Regions from separate parts of the Homo sapiens genome. Here region 1 is linked to region 2. Evidence: promoter capture Hi-C in human tissues and cell types (Jung and others, 2019). All regions are on one chromosome and are shown on one strand. The core of a region is centred on a gene start or on the middle of the fragment in contact, and the rest is flanking DNA. Distances in the headings are between cores, read along the strand shown. Region 1 overlaps RILPL2 (Rab interacting lysosomal protein like 2). Region 2 holds the start of EIF2B1 (eukaryotic translation initiation factor 2B subunit alpha).

The links. Contacts are between HindIII fragments. The study calls those that stand out against the background at their distance.
Region 1: a fragment that was not itself captured here is called in contact with the fragment with the promoter of EIF2B1 in region 2 in 1 of the 25 tissues and cell types used here (mesendoderm cells).

The regions. Positions count from the first base shown.
Region 1 is chr12:123,409,544-123,416,464 of GRCh38, reverse strand. RILPL2 (Rab interacting lysosomal protein like 2) reads left to right here. Exons shown (of 4, transcript NM_145058.3): 4 at 544-1,426. The coding sequence ends at 574. Among named protein-coding and RNA genes, the nearest start is that of RILPL2, 24 kb to the left of the region's middle. The HindIII fragment of the contact is 7,685 bases long and covers 1-5,336 here.
Region 2 is chr12:123,632,432-123,639,676 of GRCh38, reverse strand. It overlaps EIF2B1 (eukaryotic translation initiation factor 2B subunit alpha), which reads left to right and starts at 5,991. Exons shown (of 9, transcript NM_001414.4): 1 at 5,991-6,132; 2 at 7,231-7,245. The coding sequence starts at 6,120. GTF2H3 (general transcription factor IIH subunit 3) reads right to left here and starts at 5,848. Exons shown (of 13, transcript NM_001516.5): 1 at 5,805-5,848; 2 at 334-413. The coding sequence starts at 5,817. RefSeq lists an enhancer at 5,775-5,964. The HindIII fragment of the contact is 12,225 bases long and covers 729-7,245 here.

The DNA of each region.
Region 1 (6,921 bases), core at 245-2,744, 220 kb after region 2:
GGTTTCACCGTGTGAGCCAGGATGGTCTCGATCTCCTGACCTCATGATCTGCCTGCCTCCGTCTCCCAAAGTGCTGGGATTACAGGCATGAGCCACCGCACCCGGGTTTTTTGGGGTTTTTTTGCTTTTTCTTTTTCTTTTGAGATAGTGTCTTGCTCTGTCGCCCAGGCTGGAGTGCAGTGGCGCAATCTCGGCTCACTGCAACCTCTGCGTCCCGGGTTCAAGCGATTCTCCTGCCTCAGCTTCCTGAGTAGCTGGGATTACAGGTGTATGCCACCACGCCTGGTTAATTTTTTTTTTTTTTTAGAGATGGGGTCTCACTATGCTGCCCAGGCATGTCTGAGACTCCTGGGATCAAGTGATCCTCATCCTCTTGCCTCAGCTTCCCAAAATCATAGGATTACAGGCGTGAGCCACAATGCCTGGCCTGGACATATTTTTGAGTCAACAGCTGCAAGAGCTACTTAGAAATTTTACGGGGGTTGCTGTGCCCCTTGCTTTGTTCCTTCTGCTTACCCTGAACCCTCTCTCTCTCCACACCAGGTTCTTTTTTCGATCGGGGAAACAGACCTAGATCCAAGGCCACAAGTAAGGCTATGGCTCTGATTCTAGAAGACAACCTTCCAAGATGCCTGGCAAAACCACCTCCCTGTGCCACACAGACACACTAGGCCTGTGTATTTATTTCCCCTTCAAAGCAGACTGAGGAGGGAGGAGACGAGGTTCTCTTGGCATCACTTTCTCCCTGGCTGCAGAACTAGACACCCTTGAAGATTTGGCCTGGGCCAGTGAGACTGAAATCAAGAAAAACAGAAGGGATGTGCAGGGTGGGGGGGTCCACTTCCTGCTCCCATGTCAACCCCCAGGGCCTCCAGCGTGCAGACGCGTGTCCTACTCATCTGCTCCCACGGATGACCCTGGTCTTCAATGGTTAGCAGAAGGGAGAAAAGAAAGCAGGAAAATGTGCTATTGAGATTCCAGTGGTGACTTCACTGATATTTAGTGAATATTTGATTTAGCCAACATGCCTTTCTTTATGTGATTTTGTATTAAAGTAAAATGATTTTTATACTTTCTATAGCTTATCTAGAGTGGTCTCTTAGTTACGATGGTACACATGGTATATGTGTGTATATGTCATATATCTACATTTCATTGTATAATGAATCAATTGCATTCATTCAGTCTAAGCGATGCACGATTATCTGGTGTCACTATGAAGGGAAAGATTGCTGCAAACTAAAATGTTAAGAAGCTATCGATTTTAGGACTCATCCTGATTTCAGAGGTGTTAAGATGTGAACAAAATGCATTTAGGAATCAATGAAACAGAGAGCGGGTGTCTGCACTTCGCAAAGGAACTAATGAGGCTGCCGCAACCATTCCGTGAGCCTGTCTTCTTAGTAAATAACAGTGGCTTACTCAATGTGTTTCGCCTGCTCTGTGGATTATCTCATTTGTTCCTCATAACCTGGGGAGATGGGGACCGGTACCGGTGCACCAGTTTATAGATTTTTTTTTTTTTTTTTTTTGAGACGGAGTCTCTCGCTCTGTCGCACAGTCTGGAGTGCAGTGGCACGATCTCGGCTCACTACAAGCTCTGCTGCCTACGTTCACGCCATTCTCTTGCCTCAGCCTCCTGAGTAGCTGGGACTACAGGCACTTGCCACCACACTCGTCTAATTTTTTTGTATTTTTAGTAGAGACAGGGTTTCGCCGTGTTAGCCAGGATGGTCTCGATCTCCTGACCTCGTGATCCACCCGCCTCAGCCTCCCAAAGTGCTGGTGAGAGGTGACAGCGTGCTGGCAGTCCTCACAGCCCTCGCTCGCTCTCGGCGCCTCCTCTGCCTGGGCTCCCACTTTGGCGGCACTTGAGGAGCCCTTCAGCCCACCGCTGCACTGTGGGAGCCCCTTTCTGGGCTGGCCAAGGCCGGAGCCCGCTCCCTCAGCTTGCAGGGAGGTGTGGAGGGAGAGGCGCGAGCGGGAACCGGGGCTGCGCGGGGCGCTTGCGGGCCAGCTGGAGTTCCGGGTGGGCGTGGGCTTGGTGGGCCCCGCACTCGGAGCAGCTGGCGGGCCCTGCCGGCTCCGGGCAATGAGGGGCTTAGCACCCGGGCCAGCGGCTGCTGAGGGTGTGCTGGGTCCCCCAGCAGTGCCAGCCCACCGGCGCTGCGCTCGATTTCTCGCCGGGCCTTAGCTGCCTTCCCGTGGGGCAGGGCTCGGGACCTGCAGCCCGCCATGCCTGAGCCTCCCACCCCCTCCGTGGGCTCCTGTGCGGCCCAAGCCTCCTCCACGAGCCCCACCCCCTGCTCCATGGTGTCCAGTCCCATCAACGACCCAAGGGTTGAGGAGTGCAGGCACAGGGCACGGGACTGGCAGGCAGCTCCATCTGCAGCCCCGGTGCGGGATCCACTGGGTGAAGCCAGCTGGGCTCCTGAGTCTGCTGGGGACGTGGAGAACCTTTGTGTCTAGCTCAGGGATTGTAAATACACCAATCGGCACTCTGTATCTAGCTCAAGGTTTGTGAACACACCAATCAGCACCCTGTGTCTAGCTCAGGGTTTGTGAATGCACCAATCGACATTCTGTATCTAGCTACTCTGGTGGGGCCTTGGAGAACCTTTGTGTCCACACTCTGTATCTAGCTAATCTGGTGGGGACGTGGAGAACCTTTGTGTCTAGATCAGGGATTGTAAACGCACCAATCAGCGCCCTGTCAAAACAGACCACTTGGCTCTACCAATCAGCAGGATGTGGGTGGGGCCAGATAAGAGAATAAAAGCAGGCTGCCCCAGGCAGCAGTGGCAACCCGCTCGGGTTCCTTTCCGCATTGTGGAAGCTTTGTTCTTTTGTTCTTTGCAATAAATCTTACTACTGCTTACTCTTTGGGTCCACACTGCTTTTATGAGCTGTAATACTCACCCCGAAGGTCTGCAGCTTCACTCCTGAAGCTAGGGAGACCAGGAGCCCACCAGGAGGAACGAGCAACTCCAGACGCGCCGCCTTAAGAGCTGTAACACTCACCACGAAGGTCTGCAGCTTCACTCCTGAGCCAGCGAGATCACGAACCCACCAGAAGGAAGAAACTCCGAACACATCTGAACATCAGAAGGAACAAACTCTGGACACGCCACCTTTAAGAACTGTAACACTCACCGCGAGGGTCCGCGGCTTCATTCTTGAAGTCAGTGAGACCAAGAACCCACCAATTCCGGACACACTGGGATTACAGGCGTGAGCCACCGCACCCGGCTTTTTTTTGGGGGGTGGTGGGGACGGAGTCTTGCTCTATCGCCCAGGCTGGAGTGCAGTGGCACCATCTGGGTTCACTGCAATCTCTGCCTCCCAGATTCAAGCGATGCTCCTGCCTCAGCCTCCCGACTAGCTGGGACTATAGGTATATGCCACCACACTGGGTTAATTTTTGTATTTTTGTAGAGACGGGGTTTCACCATATTGGCCAGGCTGGTCTCGAACTCCTGACCTCATGATCCGCCCTCCTCGGCCTCCCAAAGTGCTGGGATTACAGGCGTGAGTCACCGTGCCCGGCCAGTTTATAGGTTTAGAAACTGAAACTCTGGCTGTGGAGCTAGGAAGCAGCTTGCCCAGGAGGCAAATGCAGGCCTGATTCCAAGGCCCGGGCGCGGAGCTGCCAAGCTTTATGGGTCCAGAGTCACTGGCAAGTCCTAATAATAGTAATAATTTACTGTATGCCTCGCCTGCATCATTCTAAGTACCTTTCCGATGCTGTCTCACATACTTTTGTGGGATGGGTATCACTATTGTCCTTGGGGTCCTCCCAAGGAGGTTAAGGCATAATGGGTGAAAAGTCTTGTCTAAGGTCCTCAGCTAGAAAGTGGTAGAAGCAGGACTTGAGCCCAGATACAAAGTCCACACACAGGCTTCAACCACTCTGCCTTCCAGGAAGAGCTGGTAGTGTTTAAGAGTCTAGTCCAGAACACTGTCTCAACAGCATCATTAGATCAGGGCTCCTAATCCCTAGAACCCTGTGTAACACTGCAACCCTGGCCAGGCATAGTGGTTCAAGCCTGTAATTCCAGCACTTTTGGAGGCCAAGGTGAGAGGATTGCTTGAGCCCAGGAGTTCGAGACCAGCCTAGGCAACATAGTAAGAACCTATCTTTACAAAAAACAAAAAATTAGCCAGGCATGGTGGTGAGCACCTGTAGTCCCAGCTCCTGGGGAGGCTGAGGCGGGAAGATTAATTGAGCCCGGGAGTTTGAGGCTGCAGTGAGCTATGATCACACCACTACACTCCAGCCTGGGTGACAGAGTGAGACCCTGTCTCCAAATATATAAATGCTCCCCTGCCTCCCTGTGGGGATAGATAGGGTAAGAGAACCCACTCAGAAAGAAAGGTTAAGATGGCCTGGGTGGCTGTGGTACCCCAGGAGACTAAAAAAAGTTACGGTGAGAAATGCTTGGACTGCAACTCTTGGTAAAATCTGATGCTGGCAGGTGGGCATTTTGGAAAATAAGTCCTTGGGGTGATTCTCCTAGAGATGGGCCTAGCTTGACAACAGGTAACAGAGCTGTGACGTCAGCTGAGCTCTGGCGGTTCTCACACTGCAGGATTCCAACTACAAACCTAGACCGGGGAGGAACAGGCTCAGAAGTAGGTTTTCGCCGGGTGCAGTGGCTCATGCTTGTAATCCTAGCACTTTGGGAGGCCGAGGTGGGTGGATCACAAGGTCAGGAGTTCGAGACCAGCCTGGCCAAGAAGGTGAAACCCTGTCTCTACTAAAAATACAAAAATTAGCTATTCAGGAGGCCAAGGCAGGGGAATTGCTTGAACCTGGATGGCAGAGGTTGCAGTGAGCTGAGTTCATGCCACTGCACTCCAGCCTGGGCGACAGAATGAGACTCCGTCTCAAAAAAAAAAAAAAAAAAAAAAAGGTTTTCAAGCCAAGTCTCAGAAGGCACAGGAGGTGGTTGCTGTAGCAATCATCTTTTATTTTATTTATTTGAGACAGAGTCTCGCTCTGTCGCCCAGGCCGGAGTGCAGTGGCAGGATCTCAGCTCCTGACCTCATAATCCGCCTGCCTCGCCCTCCCAAAGTGGTGGGATTACAGGGATTACCGTGCCTGGCCAGCAGTCATCTTTTACAATGAACAAATAGGGCTGGGCGCGGTGGCTCACATCTGTAATCCTAGCACTTTGGGAGATGGGCAGATCACGAGGTCAGGAGACCAGCCTGGCCAACATGGTGAAACCTCGTCTCTACTAAAAATACAAAAATTAGCTGGGTGTGGTGATGCACGCCTGTAATCCTAGCTACTCAGGAGGTTGAGGCAGGAGAATCGCTTGAACCCGGGAGGTGGAGGTTTCAGTGAGCTGAGATTGCACCACTGCACTCCAGCCTGGGCGACAGACAGACCAAGACTCCATCTCAAAAAAAAAATAAATAAATAAATAAAAATAAGTCAGGCACAGTGGCTCACGCATGCCTGTAATCACAGCCCTGTGGGAGGGTGAGGCATGAGGATCGCTTGAGGCCAGGGGTTTGAGACTAGCTTGGGCAACATAGTGAGACCCTATCTCTACAAAAAGTAAAATGAACAAATAAATATAGCAACTACATATCAGAACTTGGAGGCACTTATTAGCTATTAGTCCTGAGTACTTGTAAACACTGAATAGAAGCTAGCCAAATTTTTAATTCTAATAATAGCTAATACTGATTACTGAAGGCTATGTGCAAGGCACTGTTCCAAGTGTTGTTTTTTTTTTTTTTGTATTAACTCATTAAATCCTCACAATCACCCTGTACAAGTATTATTACTGTCTCCATGTTACAGGGAGGGAAACTGACGCACAAGGAGACTACGTACCTGCCCAAGTTACACAGCAGTGGATTGGAAGCAGAGGTTCTGTTCCAGCAGCCACATGTCCCCTCCAAGGTGAAGCTATAATACTGATGCCTGAATCTTTGGGGGAGGAGGCAAGTCAAGTGGGCAGAGATTATCCCTATTTGAGACAAGTTTCAGAGAGGGGAAGTGACTTGACCAATGTCACACGGCTGACAAACACTTAAAACTGATGCTGGAACTGGATCTTTTGCATCTAAGCCAAGGGCTCTACTCACTGTTCCAATCTACCACCAGTGCCCAAGCATGGAGGGGACAGGGATCTGGGCTGGTAATAGGGACTTCCAGCCCAAGACAGGTGCAGTGATGATTCAGAGCCTCCTGAGAATCATCAAGTCTAGTAAATTATAAGTCGCAATGACAATTACATCAGCTAAAGTTTATGATGCTTACTATGTGCCATTGTTCTAAGGCTCAAAATGCATTAACTTTTAAGCTGGGCGTGGTGGCTCATGCCTATAATCCCAGCATTTTGGGAGGCCGAGGCGGGTGGATCATTAAGGTCAGGAGTTTGAGACCAGCCTGGCCAACACGGTGAAACCCTGTCTCTACTGTGGCCGGGTGCAGTGGCTCACGCCTGTAATCCTAGCAGTTTGGGAGGCCAAGGCGGGCAGATCACTTGAGGTCAGGAGTTCGAAACCAGCCTGGTCAACATGGTGAAAGACCGTCTCTACTAAAAATACAAAAAAATTAGCTGGGTGTGGTGGCTGGCGCCTGTAATCCCAGCTACTTGGGAGGCTGAGGCAGAATTGCTTGAACCTGGGAGGTAGAGGTTGCAGTGAGCCCAGATCATGCCACTGCACTCCCACCTGGGCAACAGAGTGAAATTCCATCTCAAAAAAAAAAAAAAAAAAAAAAAAAAAAAAGGCCAGGTGTGGTGGTGCATGCCTGTAATCCCAGCTATTCAGGTAGCCAAGGTACGAGAATTGCTTGAACCAAGGAGGTGGAGGTTGGAGGTTGCAGTGAGCTGAGACTGCCCCACTGAACTCCAGCCTAGGTAACAGAGACTGTCTCAAAAAAAAAAAAAAAAGCATTAA
Region 2 (7,245 bases), core at 4,742-7,241:
CACATATTGTATGAAATCAATACATGAAATGTCCAGAAAAGGGAATTTAGAGATAGAGGGCAGATCAGTGGTTGCTTGCAGCTTGGAGATAGAAGCAGGGATTGACTGCAAGCAGGCATGAGGGAACGCTACGCAGTCAAAGAAATATTCTAAAGCAGAAATGTGGGGCTGGTTACACAACTTCGCAAATTTACTTAAAAAAAATCACTGAATTGTACAGTGGCTGAATATTACAGTATGTAAATTATACTTTAATAAAGCCATTTTTTAAAAAAGCAATATAAACACTCAGTTAAACCAGAATTCTCCAAAGGCCTCCTCAAGCAGTCTTACCTGAGATTCCTTTAATGCTTGCTTTCCCCACCAAATTGGGTTGGCATCAACTACAATAACCAGAAGATTCAATTCATCTTCTGAAAATATTAACAAGAAATAAAATTTAAAACATTAGCTCCATAAAAATGAATCAAAGCTAACATTCCCAATTCATAAATTAAATCCAGAGCACCACTATATGCCTTAAATGTTTATCACCTTATAATTATGAGATTAACAGAAGACCCAGTTAAAGCTTTAAAGCTGGGCAGGGCGTGGTGGCTCACGCCTGTAACCCCAGCACTTTGGGAGGCCGAGGCAGGCAGATCACGAGGTCAGGAGATCGAGACCATCCTGGCTAACACGGTGAAACCCCGTCTCTACTAAAAATACAAAAAATTAGATGGGCGTGGTGGTGGGCGCCTGTAGTCCCAGCTACTCGGGAGGCTGAGCCAGGAGAATGGCGTGAACCCAGGAGGCGGAGCTTGCAGTGAGCCGAGATCACGCCACTGCACTCCAGCCTGGGCCACAGAACAAGACTCTGTCTCAAAAAAAAAAAAAAAAAAAAAGCTTTAAAGCACAGTGGGCCCTTAGCAAGTTCTTGTCTACGTCCTGAACCACTATATCTCCAATGCACTAAATGTAAACTCTGTGAGGGTAGGAATTTTTGTCTCTTTTGTTCACTGCTTATCCTCACTCCTACCACACTGCCTAGCACATTGCAGCTGCTCAATAAATATCTACTGAACGAGGGCCAGGTGTGGTGGCACAGGCCTGTAGTCCTAGCACTTTGGGAGGCCAAGACAGGCAGATGGCTTGAGCTCAGAAGTTCCCAAGACCAGCCTGGGCAATATCGCAAAACCTTTTCTCTACTAAAAATATAAAAATTAGGGCCGGGCGCGGTGGCTCATGCCTGTGATCCCAGCATTTTGGAAGGCCAAGGAGGGGGGATCACTTGAGGTCATAAGTTCAAGACCAGCCCGGCCAACATGTTGAGCCACCCCATCTCTACTAAAAATACAAAAAAAAAAAAAAATTAGCTGGGTTTGGTGGCAAGCACCTGTAATCCCAGCTACTCGGGAGACTGAGGCAGGAGAATCACTTGAACCCGGGAGGCGGAGGCTGCAGTGAGCCAAGATTGCACCACTGCACTCCAGCCTGGGTAACAGAGCAAGACTTCATCTCGGGGAAAAAAAAATAGCCGGGCATGGTGGCACATGCCTGTAGTCCCAGCTACTCAGGAGGGTGAGGAGAGAGGATCGCTTGAGACCGGGAAGTCGAGGCTACAGTGAGCCATGTTCCTGCCAATGCACTCCAGCCTGGGAGACAGAATGAGACCCCGTCTGGAAACAAACAAACAAACAAACAAACAAACAAAACCACCTACTGCATTCTGAATGCCTGGTCAAGGACAGAAGGCACTGGTTAACTAGTAGTAGGAATCCCAGTGGTAGAATTTCAGGAGCAAAAAATTAAAGGGAGGCGTAGCTGTCAATTTGGCCCGTACTCATCAAATCATGTAGCAGCAAGGCCAATCGTAATTAAGAGTCACTTTTTAAAAGGTAAAAAAACCAGGCTGGGCGCCCATCCCAGCCCTTTGGGAGGCTGAGGTGGGCAGATCACTGAGGTCAGGAGTTCAAGACCAGCCTAGCCAATATGGCAAAACCCCGTCCCTACTAAAAATACAAAATATTAGCCGGGCATGGTGGTGCACACCTGTAATTCCAGCTACTCGGGAGGCTGAGGCAGGAGAATCACTTGAACCTGGCAGGCAGAGGTTGCAGTGAGCTGAGATCTTGCCACTGCACTCCAGCCTGGGTGACAGAGTGGGACTCTGTCTCAAAAAAAAAAAAAAAAGTTAAAAAACAGAGGGAAAAGCAATTCCTACGTCAAGATTTTACTGTTAAGAGGAATTCTATTCTCTAAACTAAACAGGCTACCACAACACATTAATCATTCATTTGGATTTTTGTTTTTTGGGTTTTTTTTAAGAGATGGGGGGGTCTCAATAAATTGCCCAGGCTGGTCTTGAAATCCTGGGCTTGTGATCCTCCTGCATCAGCCTCCCCAGTAGTAAGGACTACATGCACGCACCACCCCAAACACATTAATCCTTCAACAAACTTTCACACTACCAGTGTTAGGTGTTGGGGATACTGGGTCCAACCCCTCAAAGAGACTATACTCTAATTGAGGTGACAGACAGACATACAAACCTGTGAGTATACACTGTTATGAAAGGCCCAGGATGCTCATTTATTTATTTATGTATTTTTAAACAAATTTTTGAGACAAGGTCTCAAGGTTGGAGTACAGTGCCACGAATATAGCTCACTGCAGCCTTGACCTCCTGGGCTCAAGTGATCTTCCTGTCTCAGTCTCCCACACAGCTGGGACAACAGGCGTGCACTACCACATCCAGCTAATTATTATTTTTTTTTTTTGAGACGGAGTTTTGCTCTTGTTGCCCAGGGTGGAGTGTAATGGCGCGATCTCGGCTCACCGCAACCTCCGCCTCCCGGGATCAAGCGATTCTCCTGCCTCAGCCTCCTGAGTAGCCGGGATTACAGGCATGCACCACCACGCCCAGCTAATTTTGTATTTTCAGTAGAGACAGAGTTTCTCCACGTTGGTTAGGCTGGTCTCGAACTCCCGACCTCAGGTGATCTGCCCGCCTTGGCCTCCCAAAGTGCTGGGATTACAGGCATGAGCCACCACACCCAGCCACTTGGCTAATTTTTAAATTTTTGTAGAGACAGGGTCTCACTTTGTTGCCTAGGCTGGTCTCGAACTCCTGGGCTCAAGTGATCCTCCCACCTCAGCCTCCTAAAGTGTTGGGATTACAGGCATGTGCCGCCGTGCCCGGCTCTAGGATGCTCATTTAATAGCAAAGAGCAGTAATGCCTTTCCTCCCTCCGTACTTTGCTTCCTGCAGTCCTGTCTTCTACATTAGGAGAATCTCTACCCCATCTTTGATTTCTGTGTATTCAAATCCCAATTACTCCTCAAAGCCCCAAACCAGCGCAAACTCTTTCTTCTTCATGACTCCCCTATCTCAGAGCAGAAGGAATGCCAGCCTCCTCTGCACTAAGCACCGGAATCTGCAATCCCAAAATCCCATTCCACCCTGACAACCACCCAGCAAAGGACATTTTCCTGCCATTTTTCATCAATTATAAGATGACCCCCACCCCTTGTTTTTTACATTGAATAGTTGTTGACATCTGGATGGTATCTTTATCATTAAGATTAGCAGCATTTTTTCTTTCTTAATGGTATATTAAATAAGGGCACATCTCATAATCAATATTATCTTAGATTAGCTGAAATATGATATATGGTATTCGTATTCTGCAAATGAAAGTAACTTGTCCTAAGTCACATATGGCCTGCTAACAAGTGGCAAGGCCAAAGCCCTGTTCTAAAGACAGATCTGCTTGACTATAAAGACTGTGGCTCTTCACTGCCCCACTGCCCACCTCTGACAACCCACAGCTCTCTCTTCTAATGACACTTAGCACTTACTATTTTATTTTACAGTTAGTTGTGCTTCTGATCTCTCGTCCCAGTCCTGCCCACTTAAGACTGTGGACTTCTTAAAAAATGATGGAATTTGCTAATCCTAGGATAAAATAATGTGTGTAAATCAGAACTGGTGTAGTGGCTCACGCCTGTAATCCCAACACTTTGGGAGGTCGAGGCAGGAAGATTGCTTCAGCCCAGGAGTTTGAGACCAGCCTGGGCAAAACAGTGAGACCTTATCTCTACCTTTTTTTTTTTTTTTTTTTTGCGACGGAGACTTGCTCTGTCGCCCAAGCTGGAGTGCAGTGGCACGATCTTGGCTCACTGCAACCTCTGCCTCCTGGGTTCAAGCAATTTTCCTGCCTCAGCCTCCTGAGTAGCTGGGATTATAGGTGTGCGCCACCTTGTCCGGTTAATTTTTTTGTATTTTGAGCAGAGACGGGGTTTCACCATGTTGGCCAGGCTGGTCTCGAACTCCCGACCTCAAGTGATCCACCCACCTTGGCCTTCCAAAATGCTGGGATTACAGGCGTGAGCCACTGTGCCCAGCCACTTTTTTTCTTTTTTAATAGAAAAACAAAACAAAAAAATGTGTAAATCACACAACAAAGCACCTAGGACAGAAGCACTTAATACAACTGTGTCTGCCAGACAGAAAAAGCGTTGCCTGTAAAGAAAGGTGTGCATCTATACACATGCAATGACCCTGTGAATTTCCTTCTTTAGTTCGCTACCTCATTTGTAGACAGGAGCAATGCCAGGCCTGCCTCCCTCACAGGGTTGTGGTATGGTTTCACATCAATTAAGAGAGGATGGACAATTATTACAGTTCCTGAAAGGACTCCCCTATCTCTATTCTTGCTCCCCACAGTCCATTTTCCACACAACAGCCACAGTGATCTTTTAAAATTGCAAACCAGATCATAACACTTTCTGGCTTAAAACTCTACAATGTCTTTGTATTGCACCTAAAAATAAAGGCCAACTTCTCTATCACGGCCAATAAGGCCCTGCATGACCTGAAACTGGCTGGTTCTCTGATCTCATCCCTCTAGCCTCCTTTTAAATCTTCAAGACATCTGACTCTGTATGTGGTAGTTTAATGTATGAATGAGTCTCCCCACCATCCTCTACCCGCAAGCTCTCCATTTCTCCCTTCTCAGTGTAACTTGGTGGCTCAATCTGCCACAGGGCCCATGCACTTAAAGTGCACTTCCCCCAGAACTTCACATAATCATTCAAGTCGGTTTCAATATCCTGCACTTTTCCTAGGCCCCTATCTAAAACAGCTCCTCCTCAATCCTAGTCACAATGTACTATTGTAACTAGGACCGTACTGTTACATCATCTTCATAGCTCTTTTCATCCTTTGAAAAATAATTTATTTTTTAATTTTTTATTGACGAGGTCATGCCCTGTCGGCCATGCTGGGTGCAGTACTGCCATAATAGCTCACTGAAGCCTCGAATTCCTGGGCTCAAGTGATTCTCCCGCCTCAGCCTCCCGCGTAGCTGGGACCACAGACACGCGCTACCACGCCCGGCTAATATTTCATTTTTTTTGTAGAGATGGGGTCTGGCTGTGTTGCCCAGGCAGGTCTCGAACTCCCGGCTTCAAGCGATTCTCCCTCCTCGGCCTCCCAAAGTGCTGGGATTACAGGCCTAATCCACCGGGGTGCGACCCGGCCGAAATTATTTTTATTTATTGTCATCTGTTTCACCCAGTAGACTGTAACCTCCACTAAGGCCCCTGTCTGTCACGATCTCTGCTAAAATCCAGAAAATAATGCCTGTACACAGGAGGCGATCCAAAACTATTTACTGAATGAATGACTGAATGCCTTGGCTACTCCTCTAAAGACCAAACGGATTCTATCCAGCCCAAAAGACACATTCCATCTGGCCAGTCGTAGCCGGACCGAGACAGCCGAGCCCCGGAGTCGAAGTCCCGCCCTGCAGGGTCCTCACCGTCTGAAACCATGGCTGTCCCAGCACCTCAGCGCAGAGCAAGTGGTGGTCAGGGGAGCGTCTCAAATCCTGCGCAGCCCAACGTCCGGCGCCGCCAAGTGACGCACGAGGTGCTGTGACTCGTGCCAGCCCCCTAATCTGCGGAAGTGGAGTGCGGGGAGTGCGCCGGAAGAGGGGTACGGAAGTGCGCCGGAAGTGGGGTGCGGAGGTGTGCAGCGCGCTGTCAGACTGGCTCGCAGGCGGCGCGGCCGGCGGACCCGTTCGAGACAGCGCGGGCGGCTCGGGTCCCCTGGGGCTCCGCAGCAGGAGGACGCCATGGACGACAAGGGTAAATCAAGACAGGCCAGGGCTGCTAGGCTACAGCAGCGCCGTTCAGGGGTCCCCCCAACCTCTCACATCCAGGCTGAGCTCCCGAAGAGATTTCTTTTGAATTTCAGGCTGCTCCGCTGGTTGTGTTTCCAGAGTCACAACTAAATCCCTCGCGCTGCTCTTGTTTTCAGGGATGCGCCCTGGCAGTATCTGCAGGCATCCCTCCCACACATACGCTCCTTCCCAGTGCCAGTCTCCTTCCTGCCTTGTTGGATCTGTCATTAAAATTAGAATGAATAAGGCATATTTGATGTGCTCATCTAGTATGGTTATTAAGTGAAAAACAAGGGCAAACTAATACACTTTTCATGTAAAGAAATAAAGGGGAGTGGGTGGAACTCCATGTATAATATTTGTAACATATATGTGTATGTGAATAGACATGTATTAGCATAGACTGTCTGGAGGGGTGCAGGAGAAATTGGCAAGATGGTTGACTCTGGGATCCTCTCAGATTTTAGGACCAAAGAGGCTGAAGAGAGAATGACTTTTCATCATCATTTACTCGGGCTTAATTTTTAGGCCTTGCACACCAGTAGCTTTTTTTTTTTTTTTTTTGAGACGGAGTCTCGCTCTGTCACCCAGGCTGGAGTGCAGTGGCGCAGTCTCGGCTCACTGCAAGCTCCGCCTCCCGGGTTCACGCCATTCTCCTGCCTCAGCCTCCCAAGTAGCTGGGACTACAGGCGCCCGCCACTACGCCCGGCTAATTTTTTGTATTTTTAGTAGAGACGGGGTTTCACCGTTTTAGCCGGGATGGTCTCGATCTCCTGACCTCGTGATCCGCCCGCCTCGGACTCCCAAAGTGCTGGGATTACAGGCGTGAGCCACCGCGCCCGGCCACCAGTAGCTTTTTCAAAATAAAAAAGAGCTCTTGCAAACAGCAAAGTGGTATTTTCTCTATTCCCATCAACATTTATTGCATCCCTGAAACCAAATACCCTAAAAAGAAAGTATTTTTTAAATTGTTTGCTTCTTAAAGTCAACAGTCATTAACAAGCTCTCTTGCCTTATAGGCTGCTAAATGAATTAGGTGAATCACTTTTTTCCCTTTTTCCAGAGTTAATTGAATACT